5 separate regions of the Homo sapiens genome follow, and regions 2, 3, 4 and 5 are each linked to region 1. The links are contacts of gene promoters, found by promoter capture Hi-C in blood cells and fetal thymus (Javierre and others, 2016). All regions are on one chromosome and are shown on one strand. The core of a region is centred on a gene start or on the middle of the fragment in contact, and the rest is flanking DNA. Distances in the headings are between cores, read along the strand shown. Region 1 holds the start of NEK10 (NIMA related kinase 10). Region 2 has its middle 98 kb from the start of LINC02084. Region 3 has its middle 76 kb from the start of SLC4A7. Region 4 has its middle 56 kb from the start of SLC4A7. Region 5 has its middle 37 kb from the start of SLC4A7.

Region 1 (2,539 bases), core at 22-2,521:
GTGAAACCCCTTCTCTACTAAAAATACAAAAATTAGCCAGGCGTAGTGGCTCGCGCCTGTAATCCCAGCTCTCTGGAGGCTGAGGCATGAGAATTGGTTGAACCCGGAAGGCGGAGGCTGCAGTGAGCTGAGATCGCTCCACTGCACTCCAGCCTGGCAGCACAGCAAGACTCCTTCTAAAAAAGGAGTCTTTTTTAGAAGGACTCCATATATATATATATACACATATATATATATCAGTTCAACAATGGTGGGGAAAAAAGTGGATTGGATAGATAGGGCCAGACTAGAATCGGAGAAGCCAGATGGGTGTTGAATTTAACCAACCGATGGTGGAAATTGAGACAGTAAAAATAGAGATGGTAATGTGGGAATTGATTCAACACCTATTAAGAAGGGATAGTCTTGATAATTGATAGAGATGCAGAGGAAGCAGCAGTAAGTGTCATGGATGTCGTCTAGAGTGTAGTTTTTGAAAGCTGAATGGATAGTGATGCCCAAAATAGGGAATCCAAGAGCAGCAGCAGACATGGGGAAGATGGCGTTCAGGGTTGCACATGTGTGGCGTTAACTTGGCAGCTGGATTTTGGGGTCTGACAGTTAGTAGAGCAGGCTAGGTTCCAGTTGGAGACTTTCTAATCATCGTCAGATAGATGGTGCCTGAGGCGAGGAAGTGGAAGGGCTCACCGAAGTAGGGCAGAAAAGCAGAGGGGCAAAGTCAAAGCAGCATCCTGTAAGGAGAAGGCAGAAAAGCGACGCTCATAGAGATGAAGAATGAACCTCCAGAGGCGTCGGAGCAGATTGGAAGAGACACATTCAGGCTCCATTTAACCAGAATAATTCCGTTATCAAAATGGAAGCGCCAAGAAGCATCGTTGATGGCGCTTTCCCACCATCCATCCGTCCAACACAAACCCACCTGCTTTGAAAAGACTGCCTCACGCAGTGACTCACTTACCCACCACAGCCGCATTCTCTACCTCTGCCTCTTGTCTAGTGAAGCTGGCTCCCGAGGCTTCGGGGCCGCTCCACAGGGACCTGAGGACGTCTCCCCGGAGACCCTGACTCAAGCTGCTCGCCGGCACAGCCGAGCACCGGCTCCCGCCTACTCACCGCGCGGGAGGGACGGTCCCTCCTTCAGGCCAATCTCCTTATCATTGTCCCTGCTGCTGTCACCTGCTGCTGCAGACCGGGGGTCCCGTCCAGTCTCAGCCCGTCCCGTCCTCCCCCCAGCCTATTCCCGGTCCCCTCAACCTCAGGGACACCGCGGCCAGCTGCACCGTTGGTTTTCCAATCAAATCCTCCTCCAGGCCACCAACCAGCGCTGGCCAGGCCAATGCCGACAATTCTTCCTCCGCCACCTGGGGCGCCTCAGCCAATCGGGAGCAGCCATGCTGCGCAGTGCAGAACGCCATAGCGACGGATGACGCCTGCCGGGGAATCGCCGTAGCAACCAGAGACGCGCTAGATCCACCACCAAGCTTGCAAGCAGAAGAGGCAGCAAGTGATGCTGAAGGCTGTGCTGCAGCCACTTCACCGGAACCTAGAGCTACCTGTGAACAGGTCTCCTACACGTTGAAGATTTTTCTGGATTTAGGGTGTCTAACCTTTGATGGGAAAGGGCAGCTTCATCTTGGAGTGTTTACTTTCAAGAATTGCTATGGGCTAAAAATCAATTCTCTTTAAAAGCAAAGATTTAATCTGATAAGGAATCAATGCAGCATGCTAAATACCTTTCATATGGCATGAAAACGTCTTCAGTTACTCAAGCCACAGGCAATGAGAATAAGGTGCCACAGCACCGTATTTTTCACAAAAAGAGTGACCTGGGATTCAAGAAACCTGTATAGTATAACTATCGCCAGTTCGTTTTGTGGCTTTGGGCAAGTCACTTCACCTTTTGTGAAAGTCTGGAGCTTCTTTAAAATTTCTGAACTGCATTAGATAACGCTTTAAAAATATACCTGACATTCTGTAACTTTAAATAAATGAAAAATGCCAATCTATTAAGTGCTTAATTTTGTGCCGGGCACGATTTCAAATTCTTTCCTTATTTCACTTAGTTATAAAATGGAGGCACAAGAAGTTTCCTAAGTAGTCCAGTATGGCAGAGCTAGTGATGGAGTCAGGGTAAAACCTACTTCGAGTCTGGTCTTAACCACGATGATGCTCCTTCGACGATTTCTTCGAGTACTGGGCCCTGTTCAACCTCATCTTGGTATCACTAAACGCTCGTGTGTGTGTCTGGTGGTTACATCTTCCCAAACTGGATTTTAAATGAATACAGTGAACCCTAACGTTTTTCTGGTGTGGATAGTAAGTAGGCCCATTGGATTAACAATACTTAAGCTTGGGTAATTGAAAGCATTTTTTAAAATGAAGACGGTCCTATTTTGGAAATGCAGAAAGGCGAGATGAAAGCCAAACTCTGGTGAGTATAGCAGAACTAATTAAACTTCAGAGATCTAAAACAATCAGGATTAATGTTACCAATAAAACAAAACAAGGTGACGGGGCAGGAAGACCGATGCTGAGTAGA
Region 2 (2,539 bases), core at 25-2,524, 250 kb after region 1:
CGCCTGTATTCCCAGCTACTTGGGAGGCTGAGGCAGGAGAATGGCATGAACCTGGGAGGTGGAGCTTGCAGTGACCTGAGATTGTGCCACACCACTCCAGCCTGGGCGACAGAGCAAGACTCATCTCAAAAAAAAAAAAAAAAAAAAAAAAAATGACCATTGTGGTATGGGCTCTGAAAGAGAGGAGATCTTCATGTAAGGCATTAGACTTTGAAGGATGAAGGGGCTTTTGACCAACAGAGATGTGCAGTAGAGTCGCATAACAGGGTTTTGAATGGACCCACTGGGTTCATTCAAGCCACCTTTGAACAGCTGTTGAGTTTGACTGTTCATGGATGGTGGCAAGTATTAAGCATCAGCTTCAAATCTGAGAGGTTAATTTTTCTCATATGCCACAAGGAAGAAACTAATTTTTGAGGGAAGGTTTTAAATGGAACCCAGAAGTCCTTGAGACACCCTCAGAAACTTTGCTTGAGGTTTTGGCAGCATAGGAATTTGCTTGGCCTATTTTGTAAAGTCCAACCCTAGAAACTTGATAGAAAATGACAGTGTAAAGAGACAACCCATCATGGTGGTACAACGGGCCAAATTTGTTTGCTGTACTTGGCCTGAACTTTGAAAAAAAATACAAGAACAGGCTTGTGTGATTGTGTACATCAATATTTTGATCAGACTTATTAAAACTTCTTTGAGTAGGATGATCGTATTTTTCAAAATGAAAAGTCCTGTCACTAGATCCTCGGAAACCTGGATTATTTTTCCATTACCAGTTCTCTCTGACATGTCAAAATGAGTCACTCTAAATTCCTCTACTTCATTTTTCCCATATTTTGTTATCATGAGGGTGAAATAAACTTGCTAAAAAGAAGTGCTGAAAATGTGCAGATGTGTTAATACAGCCTCTTTTCTACCTACTTGCAGTGTGTCCTCTTCATATCTAGTGTTTGCAAGAAAGGCTCACAGTACAGATGTGAAGGTAATGGGAACAACCAAAGTTCAGAAATGGTGTCAATGGACAAAAATATGAGAACTGAAAATAGGGTGAACATGTGGGAGATAATGGTAGGTGAGAGATTGCCAGAAAAATTTGAAAACTATAAGGAACTAAAACTGGTCAAGCTCTGAAATACCAGCAAACAGAAACCAAGAAGGGAGGTTGTCAGAGAAGGAGAAGGTGGGGAAGAGCCCAGAAAGCACATCATCAGATGTCCCTTCATTGTTACTGTCCTCTCTAAGCAATGCTACTCAATCAGGGCAATTTTGCTTCCCAGAGGACATTTGGCAATATCTGGAGATACTTTTGATTACCACAATTTATGCAGGGTTGAGGGGTACTGCTACTGGTATCTAGTGAGTGGAGGAAATAAGGCAAGATTTTCTTCTTGGTCACTTTGCAAAATGGGGACCTCTGGCCAGTGATGCCCCACCCGGGCCTTGCCTGATCATATTACCTCCTTCCTGCTACAGGAGACGGCTCACCCACTCAGCCCACCCAGGCTGAGTCTGGCTTATGCATTAATTCCTGAGCTCTTGTCCCATGCCCAAGAAGAATGAGGATGAACTGACAATCAAAGAGTGAGCAAGGCGGGGAGTTTATTGAGTGAGGAAATAGCTTTCAGCAGAGCAGAGACACCGAGGTGGTCCCCCTACCTGAAGGTGGGAAAGTCCCCCTAATATGACTGAGTCCAGGGCTTCTATGGGCTCAGAATGGGGGAGGGGCAGGCCATAGGTAGTGTTGGAAAAGGCAACATTTGATTGGCTACAAGGCATTATTCAGAAAGAATCAACTGGGGCTGGGCACAGTGGCTCACACCTGAAATCCCAGCACTTCGGGAGGCTGAGGTGAGCGGATCACCTGAAGTCAGGAGTTCAAGACTAGCTTGACCAACATGGTGAAACTCCATCTCTACTAAAAATACAAAATTAGCCATGCGTGGTGGTGCATGCCTATAATCCCAGCTACTCGGTAACCCGAGGCAGAAGAATAACTTGAACCTGGGAGGCAGAGGTTGTGGTGAGCCAAGATTGTGCTATGCACTCTAGCCTAGGCAACAAGAGTGAAACTTTGTCTCAAAATAAGAAAAGAATCAATCGGAAAGGGTGAGCAAACGGGAACAGAAGTTCTCACTGTGAGTTGCAGGTTTCATCTGGGACCAGCAGTCTGGTCTTTCAGCCTTCAGGCTGTTTTTGGCTTGAAGATGGGGTTTCACTGGAGGCCTGTCCCTGTGCATTTGGCTGCCTCCTGTCACTATCAGCAAGAGATGCTGCTAAACATTATACAATTCACAGGACAGACAATAAAGAATTGCCTAGCTTAAAATGTCAATAACGCCAAGATTGAGAAACCTGGCTCTCCACTGTCTGTAGTTACCAGCATCAATGCTTTATCATACTTATTGTTGTTTATCTGATTATAAAAAGTAATCAGTAACATATAAAAAGTAATATGTGTTTAATCTGGAACATTTAATCAACATATTAAATAAAATTTTATTGTTATCCCATCAATTATGTCATAGAAGGTCATAGTCTATTGTCC
Region 3 (2,539 bases), core at 29-2,528, 190 kb after region 1:
CCTTACCCAGCCGAATGTCCTTGTTAATAGGAAATTTACTCTGAAGTATTTAGGAATAAAGGGGCATGATGTCATAAATTTCCTCTCAAATACTTCAGAAAACTGTAATAATTAGATGTGTGTGCATTCATGTGTATGGAGAGAGAGAGAGAGAAGGAAAGAATGATAAAACAAATGCAGCAAAATGTTAACAATTGGTGACATATGGCAGGTTGGGCTGCTATAACAGAATACCACGGACTAGGTGGCTTACACAACAGAAGTCTATTTTTTTTATAGTTCTGGAGGATGGAGGTCCAAGATCAAGGTACAGCATGATCAGGTTCTAATAAGAACTCTCTTCCTGGCTTACAGATGGCTGTCTTCTTACTGTGTTCTCACATGGCAGGGGGGTAGCAAGTTCTCTGGTGCCTCTTCTTCTAAGGGCACTAATTCCATTATGAGACCCAACTCTCATGACCTCATCTAAACCAAATCACCTCCTAAAGGCACCAGGCTAAATACCATCACACTGAGGGTTGGGGCTTTAACATATGAATTGTGGGGAGACACCATTCAGTCCATAGCAGTGAGTGATGGGTATAGTGGAAATTTTGTACTATTTTTGCTACTTCCTGTAAGTTTAGAATTATTTAAAAATAAGAAGGTAAAAGAAAAAAGAAAAAACATTGGCATAAAGTGTTTTACCCAGGTCACGCAGCTGGTGAGTGGTAGGAAATGGTCTTTTCCTATGTTCTTTAGAACCCACTCTCTTAGATGCTGCACGGACACAGATGCTTTGTGACTTCTCATATCCTCTGGCATGGTCCACCTCCTCAATCATACCGCAGCTGAGGACAAACTAGGCCCTCCCCCTTGGCTAGTGCTCTGCAGCTGGATCAAGCAGACGCTCTTCCAGAATGTCTGGCTTCTCCCACTGCTTCCGGATTTGGATGAAATGCTGTGCTGCAGGGCATAGGATCAGATAGGCAAAAGGAAAGAATGATGCAAGCAGGAATGCAAGGTAGTTTCTGCCTGCAGAGCAAACTTTCGCCAATTAGGGCCGTGTGCAGTGGCTCATGCCTGTTATTCCAGCACTTTGGGAGGCCAAGGTGGGCGGATCACCTGAGGTCAGAAGTTCCAGACCAGACTGGCCAACGTGGCTCTACTAAAAATACAAAAATTAGCTGGGCGTAGTGGTGGGCGCCTGTAATCCCAGCTACTCCGGAGGCTGAGGCAGGAGAATTGTTTGAACTCTGGGAGGCAGAGGTTGCAGTGATCCGAGATCGCGCCATTACACTCCAGCCTGGGTGACAAGGTGAGACTCTGTCTCAAATAAAACAAAACAAAACCGCAACAACAAAAAACACACTTTGGCCAACTGGAAGCGGGAGACAGGGTTTCGTCTACCTTCCTCTCTTCCACGGACAACCTCAATGTGAGAGAAGTTCTGTGTGCTGAGCACGCACCCGCACAACAGAGTAAAACATTACTTTATATTGCAATTTTATATTATTATTGCACTTTATATATTACCTTAATATAGTATTATAATATTATAATTATATAACATTAATATATATTAATATATAATATATACATTATATTATTGCACTTTATATTGCACTTTATATATTACTTTATATTGTGCAATATATTACTTTATATTGTACAACAGAGTAAAACATTACTTTATATTGCTCCACATCTTTTCTTGCCCCACTTCCCCTTTTCCCCATCCCAGCTGCTGTGGGTTTGCACTTCTCAAAGGAAGCATTAGCACTTTAATCCCTGCCTTGGGCTCTGTTTTCTAGAGTACTAGGGCTAATTAGAGAAAAAAAAAAAAAAAAAAAAAAAGGGCCGGGCACGGTGGCTCCTGCCTGTAATCCCAGCACTTTGGGAGGCCGAGGGGAGGCGGGCGGATCACGAGGTCAGGAGATCGAGACCATCCTCGCTAACATGGTGAAACACCATCTCTACCAAAAACACAAAAAATTAGCCGGGCGTGGTGGCAGGCGCCTGTAGTCCCAGCTATTCAGGAGGCTGAGGCAGGAGAATGGCGTGAACCTGGGAGGCGGAGCTTGCAGTGAGCTGAGATTGGGCCACTGCACTCCAGCCTGGGTGACAGAGCAAGACTCTGTCTCAAAAAAAAAAAAAAAAAAAAAAAAGGCCGAGCACGGAGGCTCACGCCTGTAATCCCAGCGCTTTGGGAGGCCGAGGTAGATGGATCACCAGGTCAGGAGATCGAGACCATCATGGCCAACATGGTGAAACCCCGTCTCTACTAAAAATATGAAAATTAGCCGGATGTTGTGGTGCGTGCCTGTAGTCCCACATATTCAGGAGGCTGAGGTACGAGAATCAGTTGAACCCAGGAGGCGGAGGTTGCAGTGAGAATTGCACTCCAGCCTGATGACAGAGTGAGACACTCCGTCTCAAAAAAAAAAAAAAAGAAAAGACTATGCTGTACTGCCCCTAATTTGAGCTGAGTCCTAAAGACAGGTAATATTTTGACAGCCAGAAATTTGAGAGAAAGGCAATACAAAAAGAAGGAATGGCT
Region 4 (2,539 bases), core at 15-2,514, 170 kb after region 1:
CTCAATATTGGCCAGGCTCAGTGGCTCACACCTGTAATCCCAGCACTTTGGGAGGCTGAGGCGGGTGGATCACTTGAGGTCAGGGGTTCGAGACCAGCCTGCCCTACATATAGTGAAACCCCGTCTCTACTAAAAAATGCAAAAATTAGCTGGACATGGTGGCGAGCACCTGTAGTCCCAGCTACTTGGGAAGCTGAGGCAGGAGAATTGCTTGAACCCGGGAGGTGGAGGTTGCAGTGAGCCGAGATCGTGCCACTGCACTCCAGCCTGGGCGACAGAGCGAGCCTCGGTCTCAAAAACAAACAAACAAACAAAAAACCTAATACAGTGTCTGACATAATATAGGCATAATGACTCTTCCTGTAATGATAGTGATAGTGGTAATAGTGAAAGAAGATGAGGAGGAGGAGGAAAAGGGAGAATGAGGGGTAATGGAGGGGAAGAAGACAGGGATGAGGAGAAGAATAGGAAAACTATTCCTGGACTAGGTTGGTGGGAATGAAAATGAATAAGAAAGGGTGACTGTGGCCTGTAATCTCAGCACTTTAGGAGGCAGAGGCTGGAGGGTTGCTTGAGCTCAGGACTTTGAGACCAGCCTGGGCAACATAGCGAGTCCCTGTCTCACCCCACTGTAAAAAAAATAATTAAAAAAAGAAGAAAAGATGGATTAGAGAGCTATTAGCAAACATTAATAAGACTATATGCAGTCTGGAAATGGGAAGTGAGGTAAAAGGAAAAGTCAGTTGTGATTCAAGTTTAAAATATCAGTTGAATTGGCTGATTCTTGAATTTCATCATTTGCATCCACCAGTACCAAAAGTAGGAACAACGATGATGAAAAATAACTCTGTGGTGTGTGTGTGAGAGTGTGTGTGTGTGTCTGCGTCTGTGTGTAAGAAGCTAAAGATTTCACTGAGGGCCAGGCGCCGTGTCTCACGCCTGTAATCCCAGCACTTTGAGAGGCTGAGCCGGGTGGCCACCTGAGGTTAGGAGTTCGAGACCAGCCTGACCAACATGGTGGAACCCCGTCTCTACTAAAAAATGCAAAAATTAGCTGGACGTGGTGGCGAGCACCTGTAGTCCCAGCTACTTGGGAAGCTGAGGCAGGAGAATTGCTTGCACCGGGGAGGCGGAGGTTGCATTGAGCCAAGATCATGCTATTGCACTCCAGCCTGGGCAACAAGAGCGAAACTCCGTCTAAAAAAAAAAAAGAAAAAAAAAAAGATTTTCTTGAGTATTCTCCCTATCCAGTGCCAGCTACATAATTTGTGGGACTCCACAAATTTGGTTAAACATCATTCTGGCTGTTTCTGTGAGAGTGTTTTGAAAGAGATTAACATTTCAATCTGTACACTAAGCAAAGCAGTTTGCCCTCCCTAATGTGGGGGGCCTCATTCAGTCAGCTGAAGGCCAGAACAAAGGGCTGACCCTTCCCAAATGAGAGAGAGGTTTTCCCTGACTTAAGATTTAAACTGGCCGGGCGTGGTGGCTCACGCCTATAATCCCAGTGCTTTGGGAAGCCGAGGTGGGCGGATCACGAGGTCAGGAGTTCGAGATCAGCCTGACCAACATGGTGAAACCCCATCTCTACTAAAAATGTAAAAAAATTAGCCAGGCATGGTGGGGCACACCTGTAATCCCAGCTACTCGGGAGGCTGAGGCAGGAGAATCGCTTGAACCTGAGAGGCAGAGGTTGCAGTGAGCCGAGACCACACCACTGTACTCCAGCCTGGGTGACAGAGTGAGACTCTGTCTCAAAAAACAAACAAACAAACAAACAAAGATTTAAACTGAAACATTCTCTTCCTGGGTCTTGAGCCTGCTGGCCATCATACTAGAACCACACCATCAGCTCTCCTGAGTGAGTCTACAGCTTGCCAACTCACTTTGCAGATCTTGAGACTTGACAGCCTCCATAATAGCAGGAGCCAATTCCTTATAATAAATCTCTTTATACACACATATGCGAGTGCATGTGCGTGCACACACACACACACACATACACACACACATACACACACACACACATACACACACACCCCTACATCTTACTGTTTCTGTTTCTCTGGAGAACCCTGACTCCAGAGAAAGTGCAGGATCTTGTGTAGCTGCACTGATCACATATCCATGAAGCCGACCCTGTTCCTATTTTCCCTACTTGCCAACACATACCACAAAGAGAGAGAAAGAAAAAAGTAGGGGAGGAGAAAGAGAAAGAGGTGAGTTAGTGGGAAGAACAAATTGGCTTGGTTTTTATGAGCTATCAATAATCTCTTGCTGTCACTATAAAGCATACATAATTTTTTACATATAGCAATAAAAGTACAGACCACATAAGATAGCTTAGAAATTTCCAGTGTCCTGAGATCATATATTGAAACCTATTGATTTAGAAAAATATTATTTTCATATGCTAAAGAGTAACAGTTCAGAAATAATATCAACTGAACCAATGTCCTTCTTTTGTACAGTTATCTCTGCTCTTATAGGACAACAAGGCTTTATCTAAAACCCTGGGGCCAGATGTCAGAATTCAGAA
Region 5 (2,539 bases), core at 23-2,522, 150 kb after region 1:
TAATTCCAGCACTTTGGGATACCAAGGTGGGTGGATCACTTGAGGTCAGGGGTTTGAGACCAGCCTGACCAACATGGTAAATCCCCATCTCTACTAAAAATACAAAAATTAGCTGAGTGTGGTGGTGGTTGCCTGTAATCCCAGCTACTTAGGAGGCTGAGGTGAGAGAATCGCTTGAACTCAGGAGGCAGAGGTTGCAGTAAGCCAAGATCGTTCCACTGTACTCCAGCCTGAGCAACAAAGTGAGACTCCAGCTCAAAAAAAAAAAAAAAAAAAAGGGAAAAGGGCCAGGCCCCATGGCTCACGCCTGTAATCCCAGCACTTTGGGAGGCCGAGGCGGGCGGATCACTGGAGTGCAGGAGTTCGAGACCAGCCTGACCAACATGGAGAAACCCTGTCTCTACCAAAAATACAAAAAAAAAAATTAGCCAGGCGTGGTGGTGCATTCCTGTAATCCCAGCTACTTGGGAGGCTGAGGCAGGAGAATCGCTTGAACCCGGGAGGTGGGCTTGCAGTGAGCCGAGATTGCGCCATTGCACTCTAGCCTGGGCAACAAGAGCGAAACTCCATCTCAAAAAAATAAGTGTCTTCTATATGCCAGGCAATTTTATAGGCACTGGGAAAATTACAGTGAATAAGACAGACTGGGTCCCTGTCCTCAAGAAGCTTGAGTTCCAGTGGGAGAGACAGTTAATAAATAAGTGAATAAGTATATTCTAAAATACACAGAAAGACAAAGGACAGAAAGAAAATGAGGCAAAGGACAGGTGTGGATCATCCTGGAAGGGCTATCTTAGATTGGAGGGTTAAAAGTAGTAGTTTCTGAAGAAGTGACATTTGAGCAGACACCTAAATGAAGAGAGGGTTCAAGTCTTAAAGATTTACTGGAATAGAGTGTTTGAAGCAGAGAAAATAGTAAGTGCAAAGACAGACATGTGCTTGGCCTATTTCCAGAACAGCAAGGATTCCCATGGGACTGGGTAGGAATAAGCAGAGGGACTGCAAGTGAGGTAGCCAGTGATCACATATATATGATTTTATAGGCCTTTTAGATTTTAAGCCATTAGAAGGTTGTGAGCAAGGGAACGGCATTGTTACGTTTTACACTTTAAAAACATCACTCTGGGTTTTGTATAGAAGATAAACAGTAGGAGAGCATGCGTGGAAGTTGGGAGACCGATTTGGTTGACACAGCCTTAGTTGACCTCCAATGAGTCATGCCTTGTGTAATATTCTCCCTTAAGTGCTGACAGAACCTGTGACTTGCTTCCAATGAACAGAATATGGCAAAGATGATGGATGTCATTCTCATGAATATGTTACATTACATAAGACTTCATCTTAGCCGACCAGAGTGTGAGTGATTCTGCTGAAGAAGCAAACCACCATGGTGTGAACTGCTGTGGAGAGGGCCACTTGCAGGGAACTATGAGACACTTCTAGGACCTACAGATAGCTCCCAGCCAAGAGCCAGTGAGAAGCTGGGTCTCCAGTTACACAACCACAAAGAGTTGACTTTACCAACAATTTGAATGAGCTTGGAGTTAAATTCTTCCCTAGTCAATCCCTCAGATGAGAATATAGCAAGCCTACATCTTGATTACAGATTGTGGAGGCTGTAAGCTGAGTATCTGGTTAAGCCATTTTCAGACTCCTGACCCACGGGAACAGTGAGATAATAAATGTGTGTGGTTTTAAGCTATTAAGTGTGTGGCAATTTGTTACACAGCAACGGAGAACCAACACAACCAATTAGGATGTTTCTGTAGTAGTCAGGTGAGAATTGATGGTGACTTGAACCAGGCTAGTAGCCATGAAGATGGGGAGAAATGGTTGGATTTGGGATATGTTTTGAACACAGAGTTGATAGATTTGCCAAAAGCTTGGGTATGTTATATGTGAGAGAGAGAGGAGTCTGACTCCAAGATTGGCTCAATAAATACAAATACTCAGCTCATAAAATTCAATTAATTTATATTTTGCTCACCTTAGAAATCAGATCTGGGCCAGGCGCAGTGGCTCATGCCTATAACCCCGGCACTTTGGGAAGCTGAGGCGGGCGGATCACCTGAGGTCGAGAGTTCGAGACCAGCTTGACCAACATGGAGAAATCCCACGTCTACTGAAAATACAAAAATAGCCTGGTGTGGTGGTGCATGTCTGTAATCCCAGCTACTCGGGAGGCTGAAGCAGGAGAATCACTTGAACCCGGGAGGCAGAGGTTGCAGTGAGCCGAGATCGTGCCATTGCACTCCAGCCTGGGCAACAAGAGCAAAACTCCGTCTCAAAAGAAAAAAAAAAAGGAAATCAGATCTGGTTGAATCCTACTGATGTGCTATAGCACCTCTTCCAGGAATGCACTTGACCGCTTTCTAAACCAGGCTTGTTCTACTAACACTTCAAGTTTCAAATGAAATGATTTCCTTCTCTGAAAACTTTCCCATGCACGTTAGCTAGCTTAACTCTTTACTCCCTTTGCTCAAAAATTTCTTATAGCATTTGTCTCATTAATCATAATTTATATGCACTGTCTCCTATA

Evidence for each region. Contacts are between HindIII fragments. The CHiCAGO score rates a contact against its expected background, and 5 or more counts as called.
Region 2: a contact is called between a fragment that was not itself captured here and the fragment with the promoter of NEK10 in region 1, in 8 of 17 cell types (monocytes, endothelial precursors, activated CD4 T cells and 5 more). The highest score is 7.6, in monocytes.
Region 3: a fragment that was not itself captured here is called in contact with the fragment with the promoter of NEK10 in region 1 in 3 of 17 cell types (monocytes, neutrophils and M0 macrophages); the score reaches 7.1 in monocytes.
Region 4: a fragment that was not itself captured here is called in contact with the fragment with the promoter of NEK10 in region 1 in 1 of 17 cell types (monocytes); the score reaches 8.8 in monocytes.
Region 5: a contact is called between a fragment that was not itself captured here and the fragment with the promoter of NEK10 in region 1, in 4 of 17 cell types (monocytes, endothelial precursors, M0 macrophages and 1 more). The highest score is 8.9, in monocytes.

What each region holds. Positions count from the first base shown.
Region 1 is chr3:27,368,112-27,370,650 of GRCh38, forward strand. NEK10 (NIMA related kinase 10) reads right to left here and starts at 1,272. Exons shown (of 36, transcript NM_001394966.1): 1 at 1,114-1,272. RefSeq lists an enhancer at 530-1,030. The HindIII fragment of the contact is 2,054 bases long and covers 1-1,479 here.
Region 2 is chr3:27,613,239-27,615,777 of GRCh38, forward strand. No RefSeq gene overlaps it. Among named protein-coding and RNA genes, the nearest start is that of LINC02084, 98 kb to the right of the region's middle. The HindIII fragment of the contact is 5,969 bases long and covers 1-2,539 here.
Region 3 is chr3:27,559,138-27,561,676 of GRCh38, forward strand. No RefSeq gene overlaps it. Among named protein-coding and RNA genes, the nearest start is that of SLC4A7, 76 kb to the left of the region's middle. The HindIII fragment of the contact is 4,557 bases long and covers 1-2,539 here.
Region 4 is chr3:27,539,608-27,542,146 of GRCh38, forward strand. No RefSeq gene overlaps it. Among named protein-coding and RNA genes, the nearest start is that of SLC4A7, 56 kb to the left of the region's middle. The HindIII fragment of the contact is 9,245 bases long and covers 1-2,539 here.
Region 5 is chr3:27,520,391-27,522,929 of GRCh38, forward strand. No RefSeq gene overlaps it. Among named protein-coding and RNA genes, the nearest start is that of SLC4A7, 37 kb to the left of the region's middle. The HindIII fragment of the contact is 1,216 bases long and covers 665-1,880 here.